Regions from separate parts of the Homo sapiens genome. Here all the other regions are linked to region 3. The links are contacts of gene promoters, found by promoter capture Hi-C in human tissues and cell types (Jung and others, 2019). All regions are on one chromosome and are shown on one strand. Each heading gives the region's core, a stretch centred on a gene start or on the middle of the fragment in contact. The rest is flanking DNA. Distances are from core to core; before and after follow the strand shown. Region 1 overlaps STARD13 (StAR related lipid transfer domain containing 13). Region 2 has its middle 28 kb from the start of LINC00423. Region 3 holds the start of KL (klotho).

The links. The method cuts DNA at HindIII sites, captures the fragments that hold promoters and counts their contacts. A contact is called where the count stands out against the background at its distance.
Region 1: a contact is called between a fragment that was not itself captured here and the fragment with the promoter of KL in region 3, in 2 of the 25 tissues and cell types used here (bladder and lymphoblastoid cells).
Region 2: a fragment that was not itself captured here is called in contact with the fragment with the promoter of KL in region 3 in 2 of the 25 tissues and cell types used here (H1 embryonic stem cells and IMR-90 fibroblasts).

The regions. Positions count from the first base shown.
Region 1 is chr13:33,116,111-33,119,384 of GRCh38, forward strand. It overlaps STARD13 (StAR related lipid transfer domain containing 13), which reads right to left. Exons shown (of 14, transcript NM_178006.4): 8 at 1,955-2,153. Among named protein-coding and RNA genes, the nearest start is that of KL, 100 kb to the left of the region's middle. The HindIII fragment of the contact is 8,860 bases long and covers 1-3,274 here.
Region 2 is chr13:32,937,601-32,941,214 of GRCh38, forward strand. No RefSeq gene overlaps it. Among named protein-coding and RNA genes, the nearest start is that of LINC00423, 28 kb to the left of the region's middle. The HindIII fragment of the contact is 5,547 bases long and covers 1-3,614 here.
Region 3 is chr13:33,014,749-33,018,173 of GRCh38, forward strand. It overlaps KL (klotho), which reads left to right and starts at 1,675. Exons shown (of 5, transcript NM_004795.4): 1 at 1,675-2,511. The coding sequence starts at 1,693. LOC124903151 (translation initiation factor IF-2-like) reads right to left here and starts at 1,705. Exons shown (of 2, transcript XM_047430819.1): 1 at 1,088-1,705. The coding sequence starts at 1,694. RefSeq lists enhancers at 1,279-1,854, 1,855-2,432, 2,641-2,700 and silencers at 1,711-1,780, 2,471-2,570. The HindIII fragment of the contact is 14,739 bases long and covers 1-3,425 here.

The DNA.
Region 1 (3,274 bases), core at 501-3,000, 100 kb after region 3:
ATTCAATGTCCTTCCTTTATGGCCCCAGCGTCATTTTTCAGTGTCATTTGGTGTCACTTTGTATGTCTGCCATACATGCAAGCCAGATGAATACACTGGGCTCTCCTGACTTCTGCTTATGCTATCTGCCGAGCAGGTACCCAAAATGTGTTCCTCACATATCTCAGCCTTCAGTTGTCACTTCCTCCATGAAGCCCTCATTCTTCATCTCTCCCTCCTTGGACTTTTCTTTGTAACCTTTCTATGGAAATTCTCCAAATTTGTTGTGTTGGAGTTTTTTGTGTTCATGCCTCATCTCCCTCAATTGTAAGATCCTTAAGATCAGAGAGTGAGTCTCATCCATCCATATGCTCTGCCATGCTAAGCACGGTGCCCAGTACAGAAGTCACGCTCTGTAAATGTTTGCTCAGCTAAAATAAAGCCTGCTTTGATCTGGCTTCTTGCTTGTGACTCAGAAAGGGCCAAAGACATTTATTTCTTGAAAGTAATGTGGCTTTAGCCTTAGACTAGTGTCAACTTTAATCCAAGAACTGATTAAATGTAAAAGACTCATATCTGATACTTCCAAACCATAAGGGAGACTTAATTGAAAAATGTAGTTCAACCTCTCACAGCAACAACATCAAGAACTCCCTGTTTGGGCTCTAGCAACTTGTACCATTAACTTAACTTAATCTACTTACTTTGAAAAACTAATATTTACTTAGTGGGTTGCCACCTTAATCTGTTTTCACAAGTGGTTCTGATTACAATCCTTTCTGAGTTTGCAGTATCATGGACTCCTTAAACACATTTTATACAGAATTCTCTATAGCATGGATATTCTTCAAATTGAATCAAGTCCATGTCAAGGTCCATTTCAGGCATATTTTGCTGAAAACTCAAAACTCAAAGTCCATGGGCCAAATGGCTTTTTTCCCCCATGAATTGGGATCTGGACCATCAAAATAATTCATAATGTTAACATTGTCATATCTAGCAAAGAGTCACGTGTTTAATTTCATTCTTTTTTTTCTGAGATGGAGTCTCGCTCTGTCACCCAGGCCGGAGTGCAGTGGTGCAATCTCCACTCACTGCAACCTCCGTCTCCTGGGTTCAAGTGATTCTCCTGCCTCAGCCTCCTGAGTAGCTGGGATTTCAGGCACCCGCCACCATGCCTGGCTAATTTTTGTATCTTTTAGTTAGAGATGGGGTTTCACCATGTTGGCCAGGCTGGTCTTGAACTCCTGACCTCAGACAATCCAACCACCTCCACCTCCCAAAGTGCTGGGATTACAGGCGTGAGCCACCATGCCCAGCCCATGTGTTTATTTCTAATACCCCCATTGCAACCACTTATAGTAGGATATGCTTCTTAATCAACAATTGTTATTTTCAGGGATTATTTTAATTATACAGGCTTTGCTGAGAACTTAACATTATTAAAAAAAATCCAAGTGAAAATATAAATAAGTTTATTTAAGCTTAAGACTTGATTTGGTTTGCTTACTTTTCACCAATGAAGATACTTTGTGCTAAAATACATTTGTTTTTATTTCCTGTCATTTTAATTCATGTCACTTTGAATTTCCTATATCCCAAAGAAATGCTTACTTTTTTAAAAAATTGAATAAGTTTTAATAAATACCTATATATAAAACAACTTCTATTGTGTCCCTTTTTCATTTTAAATTTTTGTAAATGTATTGAAAGTTTGTTTTAGATCATACACAAAACTCTTTTGAGAAGGAATATTTTGATGTCAAAAAGGTATTTTCAAATGCATAAAAAAATGGCTTGTGGATTTCCATATCAAACTTTGAGCAAAAGTTACTTCCGTAGAGGAGAGCAGGATTACATACATCTTTATGGATTGATGTATTATTCGTATAATTAAAACTCAATCTATAGGGAATTATTTTCATTAAAGTGGAAGGATGCCCACGAGAACACCAATCTCATTATTTCCACTTACACTGATAGATATGGAGAAAGGTCTCACTGAGCTTGTTGGTGAAAAGAGGCTCAGGGAGGTCCCGGAAGAACTGTTTCACCATATCCGCCACATCATAAGCAGACTGGTCTTCATAGTTGACGTTCTCAGGGAAGTTTTCATTCATTTGGCGAAGGGCATGGATTCGAGACTTCACTCCTGATTTGCGAAAAAGACCCACCTGAAACAAAGCCATAGGGATGTGTCAGCCAGGCCACACTTGGTTGTGAGGAGGAGGAGGAAGCATGGGAAGGGAACTGGATGAGCTGGAATTGCCTCCCAATTAGTACATGCTGAACTACTAGTATAGCTACTTTAGGCAGTACCCGAACACTGTCTTCCTCTCCTATGAAATGAAGATAAGAATAAAACCCCACCTCACAGGATTACTGTGGAGAGTAAGTGAGGAAATAGATGTGCATGTGCTTTGCGACCTGTTACATCTTATCACACTGCAGATGTTATTATTATTTTATTCATTTATTCAACAAGTAGTGATTAAGTAACCACTGTGTATCAGGCATGCTTAGAGTTCCTAGGTGTCATTAGTGAGCAGAACAGATAAAATTCCCTGCCCTTTAGGGTTTACATTGCCATGGGGATTTTGAGAACGTCTGGTCAATGGGAGGTTTGGTGAAAACAATGTGGGTCGTGGATGAAAGAATCCCAGATAAACAGCCATATCCAGTGCCCCTGCAGGGGAGAGTTTTATGGGGAATATGTTCATGAAACAGACTAATATCATAAGTACATATTTTGATTTAAGGAATTTATTTACTTTTTCTTCTTTGGAATTCTTGGCACTTACTTTTCTACCTGTTTGTTTTTATGCAGTAAGCTATGGCTCTAGTGAGAATGATTCCTGGGTGGCTTTTTTTTCAGACCTCAAGATATTGTCATATCATGCCTTTTTCATCTTAGAGTCTAGACTCCTCCCCTACTTGATGAATAAATGGAGCATTAAGGCATCAAGGACAGAGTGGCCCTAATGAGAATGAGTGAGGCAGAGCAGAGCCCGGCAAGAATGAAGATCCTGCAATGGTGGGGCAGGTTAAGCTCTAGGCCCTCTAGAGGAACTTTCTGTGCTGGACTTACCCGCTATTCAAAAAGGAACTGAACTTTCCTGGGCACCCTGGCTTATAGTGAAATAATATGTCTGCTATTTTTTAAATGCCTATAGGGAGTTGATTTGCTTCAACCCTCAATTTTCACAGCTCTCATTCCCCAGTGGCTCATGGGTTGGCCCACTTCTGCAAAGCAAGGTAGAACCTTCCTGAGTGGCTGGTCAGGTAGACAGTGGCC
Region 2 (3,614 bases), core at 1,025-3,524, 77 kb before region 3:
GACTGTGTTCGATGGACAGTGTTTTCTACTTTCTATCCTGGTTCAGCAGGATGCAAGAGTAAACCTCAGATTGGGTTGAAAGATGGAGGAATGTCTTTGTTGTCTCTCATGAGTGCAATGCCCAGGACAGAGGGTTTAAGTGGCTTGATCTGTGTGAGACAGTTAACATTCCTGGGAAACATCTTCTAAGTAAGGAGCTGGTGAGGGGTGGAGGTCCTATGAAATTGAAGACAGCCTTGGCCCTCTGAAGAATATCACAGCCTAACTCCCAACTTCTCCAGCTGCATCTCCTGGCACATCCTCTGTCTCCCAACACATCCAATATGCCAGCCACATTGAGCTGATAATGATGGTATCATGACCCCAGGAGGATTTCACAGAGCTGCAGAAGGGAAGTATGCTCCAAACACTATTTGTCCCTACACATGCTATTCATTTTGCTTGGAATACACTTCATCCCATTATTGGCTGGAAAGCTCCTATTCATCCTTCAAGAACTTCAGCAAATATCACCTCTTCTGTAAAATTTTCTTCAGCACCCCAAGGCAGTTAGTCAATTCTTGGGGCTCTTATGGCACATCTGCTATCTCAATTATAGCATGTTTTGCACTATTTTGCAAGTCACCTGCTTATGTGTCTGCTTCCCTGCTGCACACATTGTTTGCTGCCTATTAAAAACCTTTCCCTTTCCCCGCCCCTTCTTTCTTTCTTTTTTTTTCATATTGGACAGAGATTTTAGTAGATTCTTTGAACCAGTAAGCTTCTAGTAGTTGTTGAGGGGCTCTGTGTGCATGTTAGGGCAGGCCTTTATTGCTCAGCTAGGCAGTTTATACTTCTGTCTTAGATTTCAATTCCTGGATATGCAGAACCTCAGAGTCAAACAAAAGTGTGAAAGCTTAGGTCCTTCTCCGGTCTGAGAACACAGCCCTTGGCATACGCACAGCATTACACATGCACATGACCTTCCAGGAATCTATCAGAGTTTTTTTTAAGCCTGCTGTGGACATCTAATTCTCCAGTTTTTCCTGTTAATCTTTTTGCTTAGCCTGCTGGTTGCTCTCCTAAGATCCACTTGCCTCAAGCAGCCAAGATATTTAACAGTTTCCTCTAATTGTTTTAAACAATTTCCCAGGGAAAAGGCTATCCTGCACTAGGTGAGCTCTGAGTGACATCAAAAAAGACAGCCTTAGGAGTGATCTTCCTGGGAACCACCAGACAGATCAAACAATGATAGTTTTCTGGCAATGGTGGTTTGAAGGAGCTCCATCCAACCCCATTTTGCCACCTCCATTGGCTGACAGGCTGCTGCTTTTCAAGACTAATGCCTCTTCTTACTGATGGAATCTTGATGTTGTTCAGGTAACCAGCTTCAAGGAAGGCTGGGCCTTCATTTCAGCTCCTGGGGATGTATCTTGATGAGCCCAAGCCAATCATGGCAGTTCTGGTTTGCCTGCCAGTAACTGATTTCAGGATGAGAGTGTGAGGCACTTCTGGCTGACGATGAGTCACCTGGGAATCAGGGACAAGGCAGACTGTGATTGTGTAAGTCTAGGGTGGGCCTGAGTGTCTGGATGTCTCCCCAGGGGAGGCAGAACTAGATACTGCCAGTGTGAGGTCCACACTTTCAGGAAGCTAGATGATTTCTAGGTTAAGCCTCCTCCTTTAAAAAAAGAGATATAAGAGGCCAGGCATGGTGGCTGACGCCTGTAATCCTAGCACTTTGGGAGGCCGAGGTGGGCGGATCATGAGGTCAGGAAATCGAGACCAGCCTGGCTAACATGGTGAAACTACGTCTCTACTAAAAGTACAAAAAAATTAGCCTGGTGTGGTGGTGCATGCCTGTAATCCCAGCTAATTGGGAGGCTGAGGCAGAAGAATCACTTGAACCCAGTAGACGGAGGTTGCTGTGAGCCGAGATTATGCCATTGCACTCCAGCCCAGGAGACAGTGTGAGACTCCATCTCAAAAAAAAAAAAAAAAAAAAGGAGAGCTGCAAGAGAAGAACAGGTCCTTTAAATGTCTCTGATGTTGGCTCTGTGAAGTGTGTTATCTGGAGCTGCAGTGTCTTGTGGCCACTAAAGAAGTAGCCAACATGCTGGGATGGCAGAATGGAAGGATGCAGAGAGCCCTGGCCAAGAGCTGATGCTGTTAAATTGTTGAGTGCAGCAACCCTGGAACTGCCAATTTTCAGTACATTTTACCATGTGAGATGATTAATGTCCTTGTGGTTTCAATCATTTTGATGTGAGTCTTCTGTTGCTTGCAGCCAGAAGTATCTAAAGCGTCCTTTGTGGGATGTGGGCTCCTTAAACTCAGGCATCCTGTGTTGCTAATCTCGGAATTCCCAGCACCAAGTATAGAGAACCTGGCCCATGGTAGTCGTTCCATACATGTTTACTAAATGAATGAATGAATGAATGAAGGCCTCGTGGGGTCAAGGAGATTGTCATTAACAGCTTGGTCCACAGGCCCTGAATTAATAGAGCAAGGCCTGAGATTTACATATCTGGATTTGAGGACTGTTGAATGTTGAATCCCACTTCTGCAACACATTCCATCTGAGATTTGGGTGATATTGATTAGCCTAAGTCCTGTAAAATGTTTAATGTTGTTTGTATTCCATCTCCCAAAAAGCCCGACAACTCCTTCAGATGGGTTTAGGTTAGCGTTTTTCAAACTGTGGATTGTAACCCCTTGGTACCTTGTGAAATGAATTTAGTGGGTTGCAACCAGAATTTTAAATCAACAGAATAGACCAGGAAAGAAAGTATCAGAGTGCATCCTATGTATCAAGGATAAGGCATTGTTTTATGAAATGTTTATTTCCATTAGGTATGTGTATATATCTACTGGGTCATGATGTAAAGTATATTTCTTACTCTAGGTTATGGTCATAAGCGTTGGAAAAACGCCAGCCTGGACCAAAGGTCCAGTGTCCCTCCGAGGAATTATGCATGTGCCACAATCCCACAGGGGCTCATAGCCACTACTCCCATTCCTTCCCTCTCCAGTCTCCAAGCCCCATGCTGAGTGGCCCGGCCTAGGAACTGTTCCTTTTTGAACTTTGCTGACTCTCCGAGGAAACAGCATTTTGAGGCCGCTTCTTTTACTCTTCATTCAACTGTTTCCTGTATTCAGCACTGAGGCTTCTGAGAGGCTCTCTGTATCCCTGTGAGTGGATCGGCCTCTTGCTGGCTGGCTGGCTCCAGGCCAGACCACACAGATCACAACCAGGGACTGCTTGGCCCCTGGGCCCAGCTGTCTGTGCTCTGCCCCAGCAGAGACCTTGGCCAGAGCCAGCATTTGGGGATCAAGGGGCTTTAACTATTTAGTGGCCTCCAATTTTGAGCCACATCTTGCTTTGCCTGCTTCTGGTTTGGGGCTAGATCTTGCTTTGCTTGCTTCTAGTTTTAGGCTAGATCTTGCTTTGCCTGCCTCTGGTAGTCCTGAGGAAGAGACATATTTAAGGACAGGACTTTGGTCCTGAGTTTGAGACATCAGTCTGTAGACTGTGTGGAGACTCAACAGCCATGCTTACCCTTTAGGGAGAGGATGCAGAAACCCAGCCCCCATCTCTTTCCCTCCCTATATATCCTGAGTCCTACTTATAATCC
Region 3 (3,425 bases), core at 425-2,924:
TTCGTATTTATTGAAAAAATGTAAATGCTATATTTAACAGAATGGCAGTAACTCTGTTTCAATCTGAAGACTTAATCTTACTAATCATGGTAATATATGCTGGCTGGAGTTGGGAATATTTCATAAAATACTGGAATAAATTTGTGCTTATATTTCAGGGGAATTAATAAAAGCACCTTCATCTGCAACATTTAAAATGTTATTGCCTTTAAATTTGTATTAAATAATGCAGGGAAGATAGATCACTGGGGGAGAATGGATGCACCTCTGTGAGGATCTTGGTCATTCAACACACGTGTACGGGTGAGGAAACTAAGGCACGACTTACTGGGTAGGGAGGTAGGGATATTAGCAAGATCCTTCACTTGTCTGGGCTTTCTGTCTTTGAGTCACCTTTGCGCAGTTTTTCACTGGACTTCACAAGCCTCTGAGGCGGCAGGGCAGACAGGACATCCTTATTTTATAGAGGAGGAAACTTAGGCTTACAGAGGTTTCCTGCCCCAAATCACAAAGGTGGAGCCTAGACCTTCTCAGTCTCCACCAACTGTATTTCGGTTAGCCACAATCCTATCTACCCACATCCAAATGGACACTGTGGCTCTGCAACTTCTGTCAAAAGGGCTCTTTGGCAACAGGAAAAACGTCATGGCTCCATTGTATTGTAGAGGATGGGAATGGGTGTTCCGGCTAAATTCTCCCTCCCCTTTCCCTCCACAGCTCAGATGGCAAATGTGCGACCCAGGGACCTCCCGCTCCAGCAGACCTGTGCGCACAACTTTGCACAGATTACCTGCTAAGTCAGAGCCGAAAGGTAACACAGATGCCAAAGGATAATAAAGGTGAATGAGATTTACTCAAAATTGGAAACTTGGTGTTTGGTTTTTCAGGAGAACAATCAACGACTGTGATTTGAAGTTCACCAGGGTATTCTGAGAGATCTAATCAAAGATAGAGTGCTGGTTTGAAATTATTAAAAGGTAACAGTAAAAGGGAGAGCAAAACCCCAGTCCCAACGCAACCCATAAATCTACTTTGTCTTCCTCGAAAGAGGGGCGCGGGTGGGCGCGTCTCCCCGCGAGCATCTCACCTAAGGGGGAATCCCTTTCAGCGCACGGCGAAGTTCCCCCTCGGCTGTCCCACCTGGCAGTCCCTCTAGGATTTCGGCCAGTCCCTAATTGGCTCCAGCAATGTCCAGCCGGAGCTTCTTTGGGCCTCCGAGTGGGAGAAAAGTGAGAGCAGGTGCTTCCCCAGCGGCGCGCTCCGCTAGGGCCCGGCAGGATCCCGCCCCCAAGTCGGGGAAAGTTGGTCGGCGCCTTTTCTCCCCGACGAAGCCGCTCCAGGGCTGCTCTCAGAGGACGCGCGGCAGGCAAAGAGAATGAACCTGAGCGTCCACGAAACGTCCTGCACGGCTCCCGGGAGCTGGGAGAAACAGGTGCCTTTCTCCGACGTCCGCGGGCGACGCCTGCCGCACCTTGCCCGCTGCCGCGCCCCTCCCGGGCACCCCTCGCCCTCGGCGCCCCTGCCCCCGCCCCCAGTGCCAGGGCGGAGGCAGTCCCGGCTCGCAGGTAATTATTGCCAGCGGAGCCCGCCGGGGAGCGGGGGTGGGCGCGCCGGCGGTGGGCGGGCGGGCGCGGCGGGGCGCGGGCATAAAGGGGCGCGGCGCGGGGCCCCGGAGCCTGGCTCCCGCGCAGCATGCCCGCCAGCGCCCCGCCGCGCCGCCCGCGGCCGCCGCCGCCGTCGCTGTCGCTGCTGCTGGTGCTGCTGGGCCTGGGCGGCCGCCGCCTGCGTGCGGAGCCGGGCGACGGCGCGCAGACCTGGGCCCGTTTCTCGCGGCCTCCTGCCCCCGAGGCCGCGGGCCTCTTCCAGGGCACCTTCCCCGACGGCTTCCTCTGGGCCGTGGGCAGCGCCGCCTACCAGACCGAGGGCGGCTGGCAGCAGCACGGCAAGGGTGCGTCCATCTGGGATACGTTCACCCACCACCCCCTGGCACCCCCGGGAGACTCCCGGAACGCCAGTCTGCCGTTGGGCGCCCCGTCGCCGCTGCAGCCCGCCACCGGGGACGTAGCCAGCGACAGCTACAACAACGTCTTCCGCGACACGGAGGCGCTGCGCGAGCTCGGGGTCACTCACTACCGCTTCTCCATCTCGTGGGCGCGAGTGCTCCCCAATGGCAGCGCGGGCGTCCCCAACCGCGAGGGGCTGCGCTACTACCGGCGCCTGCTGGAGCGGCTGCGGGAGCTGGGCGTGCAGCCCGTGGTCACCCTGTACCACTGGGACCTGCCCCAGCGCCTGCAGGACGCCTACGGCGGCTGGGCCAACCGCGCCCTGGCCGACCACTTCAGGGATTACGCGGAGCTCTGCTTCCGCCACTTCGGCGGTCAGGTCAAGTACTGGATCACCATCGACAACCCCTACGTGGTGGCCTGGCACGGCTACGCCACCGGGCGCCTGGCCCCCGGCATCCGGGGCAGCCCGCGGCTCGGGTACCTGGTGGCGCACAACCTCCTCCTGGTGAGTGCGAGGGGCCAGGCGGAGGGCCACGCAGGGGAGACAGAGGGCCTCCACAGGGGCCAGGGGGAAGTGTGGGAACTGAGTCTCCCCCAGACGAGGCTTCACTTGGACACGTGTATGTGGTCACCGGGGGAAACTGAGCAGTTCTGACTTCCCTTGGAAGGCGTGGAATTAGGAGAGAAATCCCTTAGTGGGCACACGAGTGAGTGCCCCTTGGAGTCCATCTGTGGAAAGGAAGCGGTGATAGGTTTCCGCAGTGAGGAAAGAAACTCCTTTCTCTGGGTGTAGAGGAATTCCTAGAGGTGAGGGCGGGGAGGATTTGCTAGGAGTAACTGCAGGAAGAGAATGAGCAGGGTGGATGAAAGAAACACGTTTGTTCTTAAGCCGCACAGATAGCATTACTCTCTGGAGCTGTCACGAGTTCAGTGTTAATCCAATAAGATCTGTCTTGCTTGTGGCACAAGTTCACACTGTTGTGAAAGTGTCAAAACACAACTCCCGGAGAGTCAGATTTAAACTGTGTTTGGAGGTCCCTTCTGCGGCAGGGCAGGGAACTGCATCCACCAATCTTATTCACCGGGGTGTGAAGACCGCTTTATACAATCTCAAACAAAGCTAGTCATAGAAACACAGAAACAACTGCAGGGTGATATAGATTGTTCTACCACATCTATATTTCCACAGTGCTCTCTACAGTTGAAAGGGTTCCTCACTTATGACATTGTTAGCCTGATAAAATTAATTGTAACACCCTTGTGCAAAATATTTTATTAATTTTGACAGCAGGAAATATTGCTATGCCATGGTAAAGTTGTCTCAAGTATTTCTTCCTCCTTTTTTCTCCTTAGTGTTCAAATTTAGGCACCATTGTTTTGGGGATTCATTTATAATCATGTCAGTTGTTAGTACACTTT